Regions from separate parts of the Homo sapiens genome. Here region 1 is linked to region 2. Evidence: promoter capture Hi-C in human tissues and cell types (Jung and others, 2019). All regions are on one chromosome and are shown on one strand. Each heading gives the region's core, a stretch centred on a gene start or on the middle of the fragment in contact. The rest is flanking DNA. Distances are from core to core; before and after follow the strand shown. Region 1 holds the start of LOC105372772 (a long non-coding RNA gene). Region 2 holds the start of KRTAP19-7 (keratin associated protein 19-7).

The links. The method cuts DNA at HindIII sites, captures the fragments that hold promoters and counts their contacts. A contact is called where the count stands out against the background at its distance.
Region 1: a fragment that was not itself captured here is called in contact with the fragment with the promoter of KRTAP19-7 in region 2 in 3 of the 25 tissues and cell types used here (aorta, hippocampus and liver).

What each region holds. Positions count from the first base shown.
Region 1 is chr21:30,470,551-30,476,775 of GRCh38, reverse strand. It overlaps LOC105372772 (a long non-coding RNA gene), which reads left to right and starts at 1,068. Exons shown (of 4, transcript XR_937653.3): 1 at 1,068-1,111; 2 at 2,701-2,756; 3 at 3,318-3,412. The HindIII fragment of the contact is 7,745 bases long and covers 1-5,196 here.
Region 2 is chr21:30,558,122-30,563,685 of GRCh38, reverse strand. KRTAP19-7 (keratin associated protein 19-7) reads left to right here and starts at 2,372. Exons shown (of 1, transcript NM_181614.3): 1 at 2,372-2,811. The coding sequence starts at 2,397. The coding sequence ends at 2,588. The HindIII fragment of the contact is 12,696 bases long and covers 1-5,564 here.

The DNA.
Region 1 (6,225 bases), core at 75-2,574, 86 kb after region 2:
TTAAAATATACTACAGAACATACAATTCTTATGAATGCAAGTAGAGGGGGAATTTCCTGATGAAAACTATAAATTCTAATTTTGAGGAAGGTATAATAGTGTCATGTGTACCTAGTCATGCTTGTGCATAGTGATTGCATAATTTAGGATCCAAGATTAATGTTAAAGGATAAAATTGGAGAATGAATAATTTCTTGAAACATGGATACAAAAAGTAAAATTTCTTTCTTCCACCGAAAAAGTTTTTTCAGACATAATAATCATGGTCACATCTTACTACTGCACTCAGATTGGTCACAGAAACCTCTAATAATGCAAATCAATATAAAAACTCTTTAATCAATTAAAAATGCTCTATTACTATGAAAGATCAATTGAATCAATATTGTATTGGATATGTGTATAGAATAAAAATTCAGGATACCTGAGCAATTTGGTAATCTGAATAAAAGTATTCCCTTTTATTGGAAATATGTTTGACAGACATCACTGCTGGCCTCTGAAGTTTAGAGGACTAGGTTGCAGCTATGAATCCATCTATGGTTTGAGCTACTAACTTGGAGATTCTAAGGCTTAATATTGTTATATATTTAGTTATGTTTCTGCCAAGCACCTTACTATGGGTTGTAGAGACCATGTGGATTCTATTGTTTAATTGGTTGACAAGGACAACCAATTTGTGATCGCTACAGCCACTCAAGTCAGAATATGGAGAAGCTTCACATGTCTCCTCTGTCATCTCCATAGCCAATTGGTAGCTATTTTGTGCTATCTTCTTAACAGATACATAAAATATATAATTCTTTATAAATATATTCAATTTCATTTTACCTTTTATCTAATGCTGATGGTCATAATTTGCCACTTGGACTATGGCTGCACCTTTTCATCTATTCCTATCTGATCTCCAAAACTCAAAACCTGCCACCTTTCTTTAGTCCCTTTGTTAAAAGTTATTTGTTCAAAATGACTCCTTATATCTCTCCCTGGAATGACACATAATGCTGCTATTATGATGAAAACAATGAAGCGCTCAATATGCTGATATGGAAGGAAATTTTATTAAAAGGCAAGTTACAGAAGAGCCTGGACCATGCAGTTGGCTCATCAGGTATGATATTACACTCAGCAAACACCGACTGAATTAATATGTGTATTTACCTAAATGATCCATAATCTTGTTAAATATCTGCCTTTATACTAGCTCCTCCTTTACCTTGCATGCGCTGCTCTTCACTTCTCAAAAAGAGTTCCTACTCATCTTCAAAATTTAACTTAAGGGATTTCTGGGTCAAATGGTATTTCTGGTTCTAGATCCTTGAGGAATCGCCACACTGTCTTCCACAGTGGTTGAACTAATTTACACTCCCACCAACAGTGTAAAATTCCTATTTCTCCACACCCTCGCCAGCATCTGTTGTTTCCTGACTTTTTAATAATCACCATTATGACTGGTGTGAGATGATATCTCACTGTGGTTTTGATTTGCATTTCTCTGATGACCAGTGATGATGAGCTTTTTTTCATATGTTTGTTGGCTGCATAAATGTCTTCTTTTGAGAAGCGTCTGTTTATATAATTTGCATGCCTTTTGATGGGGTTGTTTGGTTTTTTTCTTGTAAATTTGTTTAAGTTCCTTGTAGATTCTTGATATTAGACCTTTGTCAGATGGGTAGATTGCAAACATTTTCTCCCATATACCCAAAGGATTATAAATAATTCTACTATAAAGACACATGCTCATGTAGGTTTATTTCCACACTATTTACAATAGCAAAGACTTGGAACCAACCCAAATGCCCATCAAGAATTGACTGGATAAAGAAAATGTGGCACATATACACCATGGAATACTACAAAGCTATAAAAAAGAATGAGATATGTCCTTTTAAGGGACATGAATGAAGCTGGAAGCCATCATTCTCAGCAAACTAACACAGAAACAGAAAACCAAACACAGCATGTTCTCACTCATAATTGGGAGCTGAACAATGAGAACACATGGACACAGGGAAGGGAACGTCACACACAGGGGCCTGTCAGGGGGTGGGAAGCAAGGGGAGGGAGAGCATTAGGACAAATACCTAATGCATGCAGGGCTTGAAACTGAGATGTTGTGTTGATGGGTGCAGCAAACCACCATGGCACATGTATACCTATGTAACAAACCTGCACGTTCTGCACATGTATTCAGAACTTAAAGTAAAATAAAAATTTAAAAAATTTAAGTATCTTCTCTTGAGATGCCTTCCAGATTCCAGCAGTCACTTGACAGCATCATGCACAAATGTCGCTTTTGCATAGAGGTCTTCCCTGAGATGCTATTGGCCTGTGGTCGTTTATATAGCCTTTTCTTCATAGCACTTATCACCAAGAGATGCTATACACTTGCTAGTTGACTCACATATTTTGTATCTCCCCAGGACATGGAAGCGACATATGGGCAGAAATTTAATCTCTTTTACTCATCTGTGCATCCACAGGGCCTAGAATAATGCCTGGCTTACAGAAAGTATTTCATAAAATATGTGCCAAATAAATCTATCATAGTGCCAAACCATTGGTTATTAATTTATATGCCAGTATCCTCATTGAATCCTGTGTCCTTTTCTTATAATAATATGATTTTATTGATGAAAATGTAGAAAAGCTCTACTTTTATGCTAAATTAATATCATGTTTTATTTATCTTTTCCATAGGTAGACATTAACTTCTGCAATGTGCTGGACGCTCTTTTAAGTTTACAGGCATAAACGTAAGCCAACTGCAACTGCAATATAGCTAGTAAAGATGGTTCATATTTATTTTCTGCCTTTCATGACATGTCACACATAAACTTCACACATTATAAGGTATATGATTTTGTTATTCCTGTGGAATAGGTGAGGAAATTGCACTTTGGAAAATTTAAATAACTTCCACAAACCATGCAATAGTGAGTTGTGAGGTATTATAACCTGTGATAAATTAAAAAGTATTTTGACTCTAAGCATAAGTTTGTGCACCTGAGCAGTGAAGGCGAGGCAAATGCCCCTAAAGAAGGTCCAATGTTTTAATCATAGGATGTCACTGGTCACATTTAAGAAGTAGAGGTGCCAGTCAAAATTCTTCTATGGTATCATCAGGAGAGATATACCTTGATCTCCCTCTCTCACTTTGCAGATTTATGTTCACCCATTTTTTGTTCTCAACTGTCTCTGAGAAAGAAGTTTTCCTTCTCCCCTGTAAGACTTGAGGCATTCATTTTTCCTTTTTTTCTCTTTCTTATCTTGTGGCTTATTGTTTTATTCACTATTACCTATCCTTCTATTTGGAGTTTCCCCTTGTAGGAAGACACCTGAAATTGACCTACCTGGAACCACCATCTATATTCTGGGATACTGTGCTTCAGTCTTTTAGAAACTCTTTGAGGTATTTGTATGCTAAAAAAGTAAAGCTCAGAGAGGCTAAAAAATTCCTAAAGTTGGATGTTTATACAAGGCAAAGCTGGGTTTTCAACCCAGGAAGTCTGAGTGCAATATACTATCTTCAGACATACACAAAGTCCTATGAAAAACACAACCAAAGAAACCAAGGTTAAAACCTCAGTGTCCTCTTGGTCTATCTTTAAGTTGACTGTCATCTCTTCCCCTTTTCTTCATGTCACTGAATGACCTAAAGGAATACTTGCACCCCCTCTGCATTCTCTCTCTTCCTCTGTACCTCATTTCTAGTGCAGTCTTCCATCCTCCTCCAATAGTCTGTCACCTAGTTGAAGCTAATGCAGTAAATGTTCCAAACAACTTCTTTATTGGCAAATCCAGTGTCATCCTCAAAGTTTTGTTGAGATGCAGTGTCACTAGGTGGTTAGGCATGAACTTTCTGAAGGCAAATTCACCTAAGTCAGACTGTCAGCTCTGTTACTTTCCAAGGTGACCTTGGAAAAGTTACTTAAACCCATTGGATTTCAGCGTTCTCATCTGTAAAACTGGGGTAACAATAGCAACAATTTCATAGGATCCTTGTGAGGATTAAATGAGTAACGCATACAAAACCTCAAAGCATAGCTTGTCATATAGTCTGCAATCAATATATATTAGTTATTGCTACTTTTATTTTGACACTATTATAATTGACTTTGTTTCCATTTTCTATTGCCATCATACTGCTGTGTTACATACAACGATAAGCTGTATAATAAGATGGTTCATGCTCAACCATCCAACGGCTGGGGGAAGTAAGATAGCCTTGCTGTTTGCTCACATGACTGGGGTTTGACTTACTGTTGACTGGGGTAAAAGTGGGAATTGGCTTTGCTCCATCAATCTCTCACTCTAAAATTAGGCTAGATCTACTTACTGTGTTCTCATGAAGATGGCAAGAGTATGAGAGCAAACTAGATTCTTGCAAGAACTTTCATGCTCAGAACCAGAACATCATCAATTCTGCCTTTTGGCTGGTAACACCATGTTATATGACTGTGCCAGGAATCAGAGTGAAAGAACATTTCAAAGTTATAACGCAAAGAGAGTAGATGAGAGGGAAAAGATAAAGCTTTGTATTCTACCAGAGAACCCACTGTCTAGCCTTTGTTTATTTAAAGCTAACCTCCTTTACTCTAAGCAGTAGTTGACAACTTCTCTGCAAGTTGTGGTGCTCGAATCTACATTCCCAGTCTATAGGAATGCCAGACACAATAATGAACAAATTATGAAGTTAGAATTTCAGATAAGTAATAGAAACATTTTTGGTATGTCTAAAATATTATATAGAGCGTGCTTATGCTAAACAAAATATTATTTATTCAGAACTCAAGTTTAACTGGGCACCCTGTATTTTTATTTGCCATATATGGCATCTCTCCCAAACCGGTCTTTCTTCTGATATTTATCTACCAGAAGAATGTTTCCAAATGCATGTCTCCATAGACAGCTGAGCTTAAACTTATTCTAACCAATAGATTCTTCTTCCCACACATGCACCCTTTTTGCTTCTCTACAAACCCCTTTCCAGCATTTTGATCCACCAAGTGCTGCAAAATTAAACTTTTGTGAAAATAATTATCCATTTATGTCCCTCTCCTCACTTATTGGCTACTAATTCCCCTTAACCTTGACATTTATATTTTTCTCAAAGATGGCACACTGTCTGCATCACCAATTCTTCTTTCTTATTTTATGTTTTTTCATCTCTTATCACAGTAGTCTCTACTAAGGATTTTCCTAACTCAAATTTTATTTTGCTTACATCTTAAGGTGCCATTCTTACTAGTTAGAAACTCAAAGTTCAAGTCAAACTGCTTGGATTCCAATACTAACTTGACTGAGGATTAATTCTCTGAACTTGGGAAATTTATTTTATCTCATTAAATCTCATTTTTGTTATCCGCAAGTTGAAAATAATCTCATTGTTTTCCCTGTAATGTGGTGAGGACTAAACGATCTATTATTTGCAAAGTACAAAAGAATGGCCAGGCAGAATAAATGGTAGACAATATCCATAATAATAATGATTATTATTACTATAATGCACTTATTCTTTTATAATACCTGGTGTCTCTATTTCATCCCATCATAATACCTTTTCATCTTGCAAGTCTTAATGTGCAAAAACTACTCTGACATCATAGTTCATGAAAAATGAACAAACACCCTATCCTCAACTGTATTCTTTTCACGTTTTCTTTTCTCACAACCACTTTTATCATATAATGTGATGTTTGCTTATCTTTCTCTCCTGCTCAATAATGAGCTTCTTCTTTGCAATCTAGATTTACTCAACTTTAATGCATTTGAATTGAAAATCATTACAGATTCATAAAGCTAAATGTATTACTTTATTATATCAGTCATGGTTACAATGCAAGATGGCTATTAAGCTTGATATGTTCCCATTTTAAATTGTATGCCTTATATGCTCTATTTTCATGTTAAAATAATAAGGGAAATAGTTTGCTCAAAAGATTTAAACAGCTCATATGAAACACCTGGATTACTTCCTAGGCAAAGAGTAAATGGAAAATATAAGTACAGTAATTTATTAGAACTTTTATGTCAACAGTCTGTACTGTATGAAGAGACTGAAACACAAGCCCTGTCTACCAGGCAGACTATTTAATAAGCATGCAAAAACTTTACTGAGACTATGGGTAGTTTGACGAACTGTGGGAAATCTGGGAGACTGGGTTGAGAAGTGGGATGCGACCCAGGGTTGTCAATATAGCTAATATAGCACCCAAATCAATG
Region 2 (5,564 bases), core at 1,123-3,622:
TTATTGGGGGTACAATAATGAGGAAAGAAAAGTCTACGTATCATGACCTCATTAAAGTGTCTGATGTCCACAGTCTATTGAGTTAAAAGACATGACGAGGGAATTGGGTCTTTTTCCTTACCTCATGAAGTTTCCGTTTGATGGTTTGATTGTTCCACAGTAGTTTCACAACCACAGAATAATAATGTTGACTTTTATGTGAATATATTTTGTAAAATACATGCTCATTAAAGAAAAAAATAAAGAATTGTTTTAAGAATAAGAGAAGTTCCTAATATTGATATTTGGTAAAATCTTAAAATGTGAATGCACTAGTATCTCAGAAAGATAAAAGACGGTAAAGCGTTTCTTCTCTACAGAAACCAGCGTGAGTCATAGGGTGACTGGGGTCAGTCTAGTCCTATCAGTGCCAAGTGGGAGGTCGTGTGAGCTGAGAATGAGAAGAGGCAGATGACTTGATGCTTCGTGGACAGGCAAAGTTCACATACGTGTTAGCTTCACTTTTAGGAATCAAATAAAGCAGAGGACCCTAGAAAATAATTCCTAGATTGGAGGTTCTGGGATCTTCTATTCCTGATAATAATATTTTCCCTACCAAGCAAATATATCTGGTTTTATCTGGATTGTGACAAGTGCTAAAGATAATAGTCTTTTTAAAAAATTACCTAAAATTATATTGAACCTACATTTTCTTAACTGAAGCAAATTCAAATACAGCAATTCTTTACCATTAATAATTCCCTTCAACTTGTAGTTTGCAAAGTTCCCTCAGGATGGAAATATGTTAAGTACCTAGTTATGTAGCACTTTTAATAAACTGGTAAAGGAAATAAGTTTAATCAGTATAAATGAAGTTCAAAAATAACCTGTATTCTTTGAGGTTCCTGGATAAAGAAAATGTGGCACATATATACCATGGAATACTCTGCAGCCATAAAAAAGGATGAGTTCATGTCCTTTGCAGGGACATGGATGAAGCTGGAACCACCATTCTCAGCAAACTAACACAAGAACAGAAAAGCAAACACCACATGTTCTCACTCATAAGTGGGAGTTAATCAATGAGAACACATGGACACAGGGAGGGGAACATCACACACCAGGGCCTGTCAGGGGGTGGGGGACTAGGGGAGGGACAGCATTAGGAGAAATACCTAACATAGACGATGGGTCGATGGGTGCAGCAAACCACCATGGCACATGTATACCTATGTAACAAACCTGCGCGTTTTGCACATTTACCTCAGTACTTAAAGTGTATATATACATACATACATGTATATATATATATATACATATATATATATATATAGCAGGAGTAGCTGAGCATATATGCTTACTGGTTTCATGTCATTTGCTTTTATTTATATTGATGATATGAAACAAAAATATAAGGCAGCTGGGCATTGTGGGAGAAGATATACCCTAACCTGCAATCTTTGATTTCAAATGCATCTGCTGAACTAAGGCCAATAATCAAAGTACTTAGGTTTTAGTCCTAATCTGCCACTAAGTTTCACTGTTGCGTAACTCTGCTTGTCTCTCTGAATCCATTTTTCTCATCAGTAACAAGAACACTGAAATAAATGATGACTCAAGTCTCTTTAATTCTATAATTATATGATCCTATGATAGTACGAAATTTAGAATCTAGACTAAGATTAAATTTGGGGAGAGGAAACTATTCATAAGGGATTGGCAGGGACTTTATGCACACTTTAATGGTATCTACTAAGCAGGCTGGCTCTACATGAAGCATAATATTTGAGAAATTCCTTTGACATTAATTTGTGACTCTTTTAAAAATTAAATATCATCATTCCACTATAAAATGTGGTTCCCAGCTGACTTTAAAAGCACATTGTATAAAGACATACATCATAGTTGATTGCCATTTCAGAGAACAATAATGTTTCAATTTTTGTGAATTCTTGGCAGAATAAAGATAACATCCTTGGCTTAGAAAAGGCTCAGCAGCCATGGACTGTCAAAGGAAAGAGTGCAATCAGAGGATAAATGTAATTGCATGAGATGCAATTTGAAGAATACTTGAAGCTATAGAGATTTGTTTATGGCATTTGAAACTCAGAAACTCATACATGTACAGTGAATATAAATGCAACTACATTTTATTAGAGGCAAAACACTTATCTAGAAATCCAAATAAAGCAGAAAATAAAACATGTTGTATAATTTCTAAATAACTAGCTTCATAAACAAGGAAGAGAGTGGGATGGGTGTTACAAAACAAGATAGTTGGCATAGTTTTCAGGTAACACGTTCTAAGGGATGACATTTAAAGGTGTGGCTTTCCACATGCATCAGAGTATATATAAATGTTCCTGTCCAGTCACAGTCACCAAACTGACCTACAACAGCTAACCACTTCTGACAACATGAGCTACTCCGGCAGCTACTATGGAGGCCTAGGCTACGGCTGTGGAGGATTCGGTGGCCTGGGCTATGGCTATAGCTGTGGATGTGGCAGCTTCCGCAGACTGGGCTATGGCTGTGGCTATGGAGGCTACAGATACAGCTGCTGCCACCCATCATGCTATGGGGGATACTGGTCTTCTGGATTCTATTGAATAAATACTTGAAATATAGTCTTCTGTGAGATTCCCAATTCTTCCAAGAAACTTTATTCCATAACCATATGGAATTCCATATTCCATAACAAAACAGCTGCTTGGATCACCTGCCTTTTGACAATAGTGTGAAGAAAACTTGATCAACTAGATATTGGCATTTGATTAGTGATGTTCTCCAGATATTCACTTTTTTATTGGCTGGAGAGCCATTATACTCTAAGAAAGATTGTCTTTCAATATCTGATATCTAACCATGAACTTTTTCTCATGTGGTAAATGTGTTTTGAGCCTCAAATTTTTATCACAATAAATGTGCTGTGATGCATTAATATAATCAACCATGGTGATATTTTCTTCTTATAGATAAAAAAATTACCAATACGTTATATGTCACGATTATTTCTTCACCCTCCTCCTCCTCGTCATTCTTCCTGTCCCTTAAACCTTCTTCCTCCCTTTCCATCCCTTTCCTCTCCTTTATCTTCTTTTCTTTATCCCCTTCTCCTTTGTCTTCTTCCTCCTCCTCATCTTTAACATTCTCAATATCTATATTTTCTTGTCCAGGCAAACAGGAATTCTACACCAAAAGGTTAAAGATGCTTCTGTGGTGATAAACTTCTGCTTAATCTTTTAATTCACTATTTCTTGGAGAATATCTTGATAATTTCAGAGCAATATAATAAGAAAAGGTTTTAGCTTGCACATAGATTATAACATTGGAGAACAACAGTGTGAAGGAATTATATCAAAGTATTAACAATAGCTTTATCTAGGAGATGGGAATATGGTGGCTGGTGTAATAGTTATTCTTTCTTCTTTTGTGTATGTTTAAAAAATTGCATAGAAAAAAAGCTATAAAACAAAGCTCGGGCCAATTTATTCCATCTTCAAATACATATTATCTGATTAAATTAAATGTATAAAAAGTGGACCCAAGAAGAAATACGAACCTGAATATTTCTATATGTCATAAAGAAGTGGAATTCATGAATCCATTTTGACAAATATGCAAATTTAAGACTAGATGATTTCACCAGTTAATTCTGAACAGTTTCTCTTTCAGAGAATAAGATAAGATAAAACACTAAGACTCTTCTGTACTTTTTTTTTAAGGTTAGCTGTATTAGTTCATTCTTCCATTTCTATAAAGAAATACCTGAGACTGGGTAATTTATAAAGAAAAGAAGTTTAATTGGCTCATGATTCCTCTGGCTGTACAGGAAGAATGATGCAGGCCATCTACTGGTCTCCAGGGAAGGCCTCAGGAAACTTACAATAATGGTGGAAGAGGAAGGGGAAGCAGGTGGAAGGTGAAGGGCAAACAAGAAATCATGGTGGAGCAGGAAGAAGAGAGAGAAAGTGGAGGTGCTATACACTTTTAAACAACCAGATCTCATGGGAACTCACTCACTGTCATGACAGCACCAAGGCGGACAGTGTTAAACCATAAGAAACTGCCCCCATGAGCTAATCATCTCCCACCAGGCCCCACCTCCAGCACTGGGGATTACAATTCGACATGAGATTTGGATGGGGACACTAATCCAAAGAATATCATTCTGCCCCCTGCCCCTCCCAAATCTCATGCCCTTCTCACATTGCAAAATACAATGATTTCTTCTCAACATCCCCCAAAATCTTAACTCATTCCAGCATTAACTCAAAAGTTCTCAGTCCAAAATCTCATTTGAGACAAGGCTAGTCTCTTCCACCTATGAGCCTGTAAACTCAAAAACAAATTAGTTACTTCCAAGAAACAATGAGGGTATAGGCAATGGGTAAATACTCCCATTCCAAAAAGGGAGAAATCATCCAAAAGAAAAGGGCTACAGGCACCATGTAAGTTTAAAACCCAACAGGGCAGTCATTAAATCTTAAAGATCCAAAATAATGAGACTGGGTAATTTAAAAAGAAAAGAGATTTAATTGACTTACAGTTCCACATGGCTGTGGAGGCCTCAGGAAACTTATAACCATGGCGGAAGGCAAAGGGGAAGCAAGGCATGTCTTACATGGCGGCAGGAGAGGGAGAGCGAGGATGAAAGTGCCACAATTTTAATGAGCTCACTCATTATCATGAAAGCAGCATGGGGGAAATCCGCAACCATGAGCCAATCACCTCCCACCAGTTCCCTACCCTGACACACAGGGATTACAATTCAAGATAAGATTTGTGTGGGGACCTAGAGCCAAACCATATAAACTTAACAAGTTGATCTAAAATTTATACAGAAATATTAAGAACCTGCAATAACCAATACAGTCCTGATGAAGAAAATATTAAGAACTTCTAAATTCCTATTTACCAAAAGGCACAATTAAAAAATGGAAAAGACCACAGACAGAAAAAAGACAATTAGCACACAGTTATGTGGACCTGGCACACATTACTTATTTAGATATGCTATAAATTTAATAAGAAAAAATCTAACAAAACAATTTTTAGAATTTGCAAAAGGCTTAATTAGCCAATTCGTAAAAGATATCCAAATGTCTAATTAGCATGTATGAAGGAGTTCAGTACCATTTGTCATCAGAGACATGAACATTAAATTTTGAGTGAGAAATAGTAATATGCACTCACCAGAAAGTCATTATTAAAAGGACTTACAACATTTTGTTTATGTAGGCCGGGATATAGAATATCAGGAACTTTTGCACATTACCACTGAGAAAATGAATTAGTATAAGCCCTTTAGAAAACTGGCCATGCCCCTGGTGCAGTGGCTCACGCCTGTGATACCAGCACTTTGGGAGGCCAAGGCAGGCGGATCACCTGAGGTCAGGAATTCGACACCAGCCTGGCCAACATGGTGAAACCCCATTTCTACTAAAAATACAAAATTAGCCAGGTGTAACGACACACACCTACAGTCCCAGCTACTCAGGAGGCTGAGGCAGGAGAATCGCTTAGAACCTGGGAGGCGGAGGTTGCAGAGAGCTGAGATTGTGCCACTGAATTCCAGCCTGGGC